Regions from separate parts of the Homo sapiens genome. Here regions 1 and 3 are each linked to region 2. Evidence: promoter capture Hi-C in human tissues and cell types (Jung and others, 2019). All regions are on one chromosome and are shown on one strand. The core of a region is centred on a gene start or on the middle of the fragment in contact, and the rest is flanking DNA. Distances in the headings are between cores, read along the strand shown.

Region 1 (2,700 bases), core at 52-2,551, 240 kb after region 2:
ATCATACACAGCTTCTCGATATATCCTCACATGGCAGAAGGGACAAAGCAATGCCCCAGGGCCTCATTTATAAGGACAATAATCCCCTTCGCCAGGGCTCCACCCTCATGACCTAATCCACTCTCGAAAACCCCACCTCCTAATACTGGGTCATTGGTGATTAGGTCTCAACATACAAATATGGGGGGACAAAAACTTTCAGACCATAGCAGCATCCTTATCATGAGAGTCTATCCCTCATTCACTAGGCCACAAGCCCTAATTCAACACAGATGTGAGAGGTCCCTTTGGACTCGGCAAGTAATGAATTGCAGAAGTGGAAGGTCTGTCTTTAAAGAAAAGAACTCCTAAGAAAAAAAAACTGAATAAAGAATCCTATAGCAAAAGACAAGTACATTGTTTATGATTATCCTAAAATCTAAAATTTTACAAATTTAAATTTTTACTTTGATATGCATATGTTGTGTGTAAAAGCTAGTGGAAGGTCTGGAAAATACTGTATATATACTGAACTGTTATAGTAGTTATCTCTTGGGGATTAGCAAGGGGTTTGAAGAATACCTTTATTAAAATGTTTAACAAACAGCATATATGACTCTGATAATCAGAAAAAAAAATAAATGTTATTCTCCCAAACAAATGGCTTTGCAAATGGGTCACAGCAGGAAGGAACCACCTAGAAAAACAACCACGTAGAAAAACAAAGCCAAAGCTTTATTTCTTTAGGCTTTGTAAGAGTGCCATCTTCTGGAGTCTCAAGAAATGAACTTTAAAATAAACTAACCTGGCTGGGCGCGGTGGCTCATGCCTGTAATCCCAGCACTTTGGGAGGCCAAGGCAGGTGGGTCACTTGAGGTCAGGAGTTCGAGACCAGCCTGGCTAACATGGCGAAACCCTATCTCTACTAAAAATACAAAAATTAGCCAGGAGTGGTGGCGTGCGCCTGTAGTCCCAGCTACTAGGGAGGCTGAGGCAGGAGAATAGCTTGAACCCAGGAGGCGGAGGTTGCAGTGAGCCAAGATCACACCACTGCACTCCAGCCTGGGCAACAGAGCAAGATTCCGTCTCAAAAAATAAAATAAAATAAAATAAAAATAAGCTAAGCCTGTGTGTTCAAGCCACTTGAGATGTATTGATACTAGAAGGTTTATCTTTTAAAACAAGAAAGAAGAAAAAAAGCAAACCTTTTACAACGATCAACTTAGCAAATTAAAATTGTCTTATTTAACTAATAATTAGTTTCCAAAAAGTTCACCAGTAAGGAGGCAGTTCTACAAGGCATAAAGTGAAAAAGAAAGTTAGCAATTATTTAGAGTTAAGAAAACCAGCCAATCAATAACTACTCAGGCTTTAAAAACATACTCAAATATCAAATGAAAATGAAATTCTTAATCATATAGCTGAGTAAATGATTTTTTTATGGGGTAGTAAATGTTTCTTAAATCTTGGAACTGAATCCAAGATTGTGCTGAGCTAAAGAAACCAGACACAAAAGAATACATACTGTATGATTCCATTTATATGAAACTTTCAGAAAGATAAAATCTCATCTATAGTGACAGAAATAAGCTCAGTGGTCACCTGAGCTGAAAGGTGTGGGAGGAGTGAGAATTAACTGGTTAACCTGGAAGGGGCACCTGAGAACCTTTGGGACCGATGGAAGTGTTCCGTATCTTGACTGTGGTGATGGGTCCATTTAGCAAGGCTCTTCAAACTGCACATTTAAAACGAATATATTTCATTGTAAGTAAATATTAACTCAATAGTCAATTTTAAAATAATAATTGAATATTCTTTCTTCAGATGATACTGTCCACAGGCGCAGAGAGGCCATGTAGGATCGTCAAAGGTGTCCTAGGGCAAGCTGGCTCTTAATCACTGATCAGTAAATATTCAGGAATTTTCCAAGCTGGCTATTAAACCATGGGCAGCTTGAAATTGGCCATGATGGGAGTATTTACACAAATGGAACTTGGGCTTTTAAAATGTATTTCCCAGAAAACTGTTTTACACCAGTACACCACTGAGCATAGAGGTTAAAAGCACAGTTCAAAGGCCTGAGTTTGGGTCCCAGCTCTGGCACTTTCTAATGGTTTTACTTACCTCTCTGTTCCATAGTTCTCTGTTCCCTAAAATCAAGGCAAAAAAGGATACCTGCTTCACGCCCTATTATGAGAATTCTATGGGTCAATTCACACTTGGCATATAGTAAGCACTAAATATTACCTGCTATTATTATGCAAAGAAAAAAAGTCTCTCTACAACTAAAGAAATGAACTGGTTTACATATTTCCCCCAGACATATTTATTCTTTTTCTTCCCTTCATGCACAATCCTAAATTATTCCACTTTTGTAAAAAAAAAAAGTGCACTTTTCTCACCCAACATATGGGGAGGGGGGAATAATATTTATCTTCCCTCTATCACAAGTTGTGAGCATCAAATAAGCCAACTTCTGTGAAGGAGCTTAACAAGCCATAAAGCACTTTGAAACTATAAGATGTGCTTTCTTCAGAGATGGGGTCGCTCTCTGTCACCCAGGCTGTAGTGCAATGGTGTGCTCATAGCTCACTGCAGCCTCAAATTCCTGGGCTCAAGTGATCCTCCCACCTCAGACTACTGCCATTTTAGTCAAATGTCAGATGCCTGATGAAAGGTGCAAACCACGGTGCCTGTCTAAAATGCTAATATTAATGTAGC
Region 2 (2,700 bases), core at 68-2,567:
ATATTTGGTACAATGCCTGCTACATAGTCAATACTTCACAAGTAATATACATACCATGAGGGTGTATGGAACTTATCCACATATTATACATTTTTTATTTTAGTTGTTTAATGAAAATAATTGTAATTCTTTTCATTTCTGCCAAACTGTTTCCTATCCATGTGTCTTATGCAAGTACCTGCAAGAAAAAGATGAGGGTTTATCTGTTCTACACCCAGAGTACCCAATAGAACATCTTGGATGCATGTTATTGAAGGCTTAATAATTCTAAATATTCTTCATATATAACAAATGCTTTTGTAAATGAAAAATGCATCACGCAATTTTGATGATCAAAGATTAATCAGGCTGGGTGTTGGGGGCTCACGCCTGCAATCCCAACACTTTGGGAAGCAAAGGCGGGTGGATCATGAGGTCAAGAGATCAATACCATCTTGGCCAACATGGTGAAACCCTGTCTCTACTAAAAATACAAAAGTAAGCTGGGTGTGGTGGCACACACCTGTAGTCCCAGCTACTCGGAAGGCTGAGGAAAAGGAACTGCTTGAACCCAGGAGGTGGAAGTTGCAGTGAGCCGAGATCATGCCACTGTACTCCAGCCTGGTGACAGAGGGAGACTCCGTCAGAAAAAAAAAAAAAAAAAAAGATAAATCAAAACTTCCTACTCTTAATGCCTATACTGTAAGAAATACAGCAAAATGTGTTTTTACCCTTTAAAGGCAGTGAGTCATGGGTAAGTACTTTTGCTGGAGGCTGTGGAATAAGATCTGACAAAGAGTTTAGAACTTGTTGGGATCTGACCATCTGCCCGACCATCCGAGATGCACACACGGGATCAGAGTCATCCTCATTACAGATGGGAGATCCTTCCACAAATGAGTCCTTCCTTCTAATTCCTTCCCAACATTTCACCTGACCAGGACGTTCTTTGACAATGAAAGATACATTCACATTATAAAAATCGTCCCCCATTATTTGCAGACAGCAATCTACAGGTAGGAGGGAGAGTCATATTTAAAAACAAAATGTCAGAGAGTCCTGTGACCAGTGCTTTGTAAAAGACACTGCATAGACCAGGGACAAAGGTGACCCCCACCAAGGAAGAAATATGACAAGCATTTCCAATGGAAACACAGGAGCACAGCAGGAAAAGGAAATGAGTTATTTTCTCTGTTTTGGAGTATTTAACTAGAAACACACAATGATGTAATTACATGATTAATTTTTTCAGTAGGTAAATAATAACAAGGAAATAATGACGTGGTGACAACGGGCCTTCAGGCGGGTATAAAGGGGCTATGGACCCAGGAAACTTCCAAACTCAAGAACTTTACTCTCTTGGAAACCCAAATAGATCCTTCACCCTCTGACACCATGGTCAACTCCTGTTGTGGCTCCGTGTGCTCTGACCAAGGCTGTGGCCAAGACCTCTGCCAGGAGACCTGCTGCTGCCCCAGCTGCTGTCAGACCACCTGCTGCAGGACCACCTGCTACCGCCCCAGCTACAGTGTGTCCTGCTGCTGCAGACCCCAGTGCTGCCAGTCTGTGTGCTGCCAGCCCACCTGCTGTCGCCCCAGCTGCTGTGTGTCCAGCTGCTGCAAGCCCCAGTGCTGCCAGTCTGTGTGCTGCCAGCCCACCTGCTGCCACCCTAGCTGCTGCATCTCCAGCTGCTGCCGCCCCAGCTGCTGTGTGTCCAGCTGCTGCAAGCCCCAGTGCTGCCAGTCTGTGTGCTGCCAGCCCAACTGCTGCCGCCCCAGCTGCAGCATCTCCAGCTGCTGCCGCCCCTCTTGCTGTGAATCCAGCTGCTGCCGCCCCTGCTGCTGCCTGCGTCCAGTCTGTGGCCGAGTCTCCTGCCACACCACTTGCTATCGCCCAGCCTGTGTCATCTCCACCTGCCCCCGCCCCGTGTGCTGCGCCTCCTCTTGCTGCTGAGCCCACTGCCCTGGCTCATCTCTCCCTTCACCGCTGGTCCACAAATGTAGACCATTCTTCTGTGCTGAATATTAGGACACATGGAGTGGGATTTATGTCATTCAGCAGGGTGGACCTCATGTATCCAATGAGCCCATCACCATCCCGCTGACTCTGTGAGAACATTCTGGTTCATTTTAAACTCCCTCCCTTGCTTTCTTTTTCTTCCAGTCATGGCACCAAATACGAATTAATTTGTAATCCACTAGCTAAGAAATTATTCCAATCCTCTAAATTCCTCATTTTTTAAAATCATTTTGAGCCTACAGAATATCCTTCCCAATTAGGTACACATTATCTCCCTTTCAAACATACTATTTGTCTGTCAGCCTTTCAGTCATTCTTTTCTTTTGGAAAGGTAGGAGGCTGCCCCTCCCGTGCTCTCCCGCTTTCTCCCTGCTCTCTCTTTCTCTCACTGTTCAAGTTTGTCAGAATTTTTCTATTTTATTAGTTCTTTATCTTTATTGTGTTCACAAAATATATTGTATTAAACTTTTCATTTAGAAATCTTTTATTGTTTTTTGCATTTTTTGTGATAATTTTCACTGAGTTTACTGATTCATGGGGGTGAGGTGGGAATGCAGTAGAAGGGGATTCTCAAAGCATGATTCCAAAGTAAGACTTCAGGGATGAAATCATAGTGCCAAACTGCTCCAATGTCACACATAAACTAAAATAAAATAGAAGCTTTTGATTGTTTCAATTTGATATACGGAATGGTTTGGGATA
Region 3 (2,700 bases), core at 138-2,637, 250 kb before region 2:
TGGAGGTGGACGCTGCTCCCACTGTGGACCTGAACCAGGTCCTGAATGAGACCAGGAGTCAGTATGAGGCCCTGGTGGAAACCAACCGCAGGGAAGTGGAGCAATGGTTCGCCACGCAGGTGGGCATCTAAGCACGTGGCCACTCAGGACCCGAGGCCCCCCAGGGCCCCGGAGGCAGGGTCTGATCCTTTCTCCCCTTGGGTGTTTCAGACCGAGGAGCTGAACAAGCAGGTGGTATCCAGCTCGGAGCAGCTGCAGTCCTACCAGGCGGAGATCATCGAGCTGAGACGCACGGTCAATGCCCTGGAGATCGAGCTGCAGGCCCAGCACAACCTGGTGTGTATTGTTCAGACCTGCTGGTGAGCGATGGGAACTTGGGAGGCAGAGTCTTGGGGATGCCCTTGGGGCCACACACTCTCCTTAGCTCTTGGAGCTTGTGAGTTCTTTGGAACCCCATGGAGGAACCTTATAAGGAGCAGCTCTCTGACACTCTCAATCTTCCCCACCACAGCGAGACTCTCTGGAAAACACGCTGACAGAGAGCGAGGCCCGCTACAGCTCCCAGCTGTCCCAGGTGCAGAGACTGATCACCAACGTGGAGTCCCAGCTGGCGGAGATCCGCAGTGACCTGGAGCGGCAGAACCAGGAGTATCAGGTGCTGCTGGACGTGCGGGCGCGGCTGGAGTGTGAGATCAACACGTACCGGAGCCTGCTGGAGAGCGAGGACTGCAAGTCAGTATGGGGGTAGTAATCTTCTCCTTGGGGCATGTTAGGTTGCTGTGGAGATGAATAGTCTTCTTGATGGAAATGAATTTATAATTTCAAGCTTTTGTTTGGAGGAAGTCCAAGGAGGAACAATATTCTTACACAAAGCCCTTTTAGTATTTTCCAATCTCTTCAGCTCATTTTACTCTAACTTGCTCCAATGATTTTCTGCCCACAGGCTCCCCTCCAACCCCTGCGCCACAACCAATGCATGTGACAAGTCCACTGGGCCCTGTATCTCTAATCCCTGTGGCCTACGTGCTCGGTGTGGGCCTTGCAACACATTTGGGTACTAGAGGCCCCACAACCAGGAGGAGAAGAAAGGCATCAGTCACACCTCAACTCTACTTCATCCCAACATCTCCAACAGTGACCACACTTTGGAAAGAGGCAGAAACCTTTCTATCAACCCTGGCTTCCAGGGGTCAGCTCTAGCCTTCCACTGTATTCCCTGGCTTGATTCTTCAGCATAAGGCTGCAAAATCTGTCTTCTGAGTCACATAGAGAGACCTACAGCAGGATCAAGATCAAGCAATATCTATCACCATAAAGACACATTTGCATAACATGTTATACTTGAATAAAACTTAAATAATACAATTTAGAGAAAATTCCATTAAATGTGATAGAGCTGATGGGCATGCTATGAAACAGAACATAATTGGAGCAAATCTTCCTTGTCACTCTTGGTCTTTGGAGATGCAATAGAAATCCTTTGTTAACCTCCTAATAAACTGTTATTCAAAAGTTATAATTGTCTGTTTCACTCATTAATTCCAAAATTGGCTGTCTTGTATAAATTAAAAAAATAACCAGAGTTTTTCCATCAGATGAAGAGGTTATTCACCCCATATATGGCCTATGATTTCCTTCAATGGAAAAGCCTCCATGAAAGACTATTAACCCGGATTTAGTGTTTGGGAAGAAGGTGGTGGGAAACAGAATGGCAAATTCATATGAAGGTGTCTTTAGAGACACAGGAACTATTTATTCTGAAACATTAAGTGGAGGGATCCGAAAACCTTTTGAGTAAAAAAAAAACCTGTACTGAGGTAATATAAATCTATCACCTTAACATATGGTATATAATCTCATATACACATATACATAACCACATACCATATAAGCATATGTACACCACACACACATGCACACACACAACCATGCTGTGCTGAAATGTTTAGGTAGAAAGTAGGAAGGAGCAGCAAAGGGTAGAGGGATATAGTGGCCAGGAGGAGTGTGGGATCTGCTAGGCTGGATGGTGGGGAGGTGCCTTTGGTTCACCTTCCTCTCTTTGTTCCTGCCTCGGCACTCAAGGACTCCTTGTGACTTTCTGTAGTTCTATGATGTGGGCCTGGAACTCTATGCTGGAGTTCTCTGCTCAGTTGCCTGGGGTCTGCGTCAGATGATGGAGAACTGTGAGTGGGTTATTTGGCGGAAAAGTCTCTTTTGTCCTAGTGAGCCTTGAGCTTTGGCCCCACCTGTTTTTATTTATATGCAGTTGGGACCATCATTATGTCACATTACTGCCTTCAGTGGCATCCAGATTTGGCAATGTTTAAAAAAACAAAAACAGCAATCAAGTAAGGAAACCCAAGGCCCAGCCCACAAATGAGATTGAGTCTCATTTTTCACTTCTCTACTCCTACTTTTCTAAATCAATGATTGAAATGAAGAGATATTGAGAATGGGAACTCTTAATAGAGATTAGAATATCATCAACCTATGAGAACAGGTAGGGAGGGGCAGGAGGTAGAGTGGGGGTTGGAAATTCTCTCCAAAACTTGCAGACCATATATTTAGGTGTGGTAGAGATGTCCAGGGAAAAATACCCAAAACCTTCCATTCAGGGCTGTGGATACCAGAGGACAGCTAAGGAGACCAGCCCTCAACAGTTGCTCGTGGCCACCTTCTTCCCTTAGGTGCGGACCAGTC

What was found. Contacts are between HindIII fragments. The study calls those that stand out against the background at their distance.
Region 1: a contact is called between a fragment that was not itself captured here and the fragment with the promoter of KRTAP4-8 in region 2, in 4 of the 25 tissues and cell types used here (heart right ventricle, mesenchymal stem cells, stomach and 1 more).
Region 3: a contact is called between a fragment that was not itself captured here and the fragment with the promoter of KRTAP4-8 in region 2, in 3 of the 25 tissues and cell types used here (IMR-90 fibroblasts, bladder and liver).

The regions. Positions count from the first base shown.
Region 1 is chr17:40,855,211-40,857,910 of GRCh38, reverse strand. All of the region lies in intron 1 of LOC105371777 (a long non-coding RNA gene), which reads right to left. Among named protein-coding and RNA genes, the nearest start is that of KRT12, 11 kb to the left of the region's middle. RefSeq lists an enhancer at 620-914. The HindIII fragment of the contact is 6,754 bases long and covers 1-2,700 here.
Region 2 is chr17:41,096,759-41,099,458 of GRCh38, reverse strand. It overlaps KRTAP4-8 (keratin associated protein 4-8), which reads left to right and starts at 1,317. Exons shown (of 1, transcript NM_031960.3): 1 at 1,317-2,478. The coding sequence starts at 1,375. The coding sequence ends at 1,932. The HindIII fragment of the contact is 2,566 bases long and covers 1,232-2,700 here.
Region 3 is chr17:41,344,480-41,347,179 of GRCh38, reverse strand. KRT33A (keratin 33A) reads left to right here. Exons shown (of 7, transcript NM_004138.4): 4 at 1-119; 5 at 211-336; 6 at 512-732; 7 at 944-1,088. The coding sequence ends at 1,061. Among named protein-coding and RNA genes, the nearest start is that of KRT33A, 5.0 kb to the left of the region's middle. RefSeq lists enhancers at 1-219, 220-720. The HindIII fragment of the contact is 3,560 bases long and covers 1-2,700 here.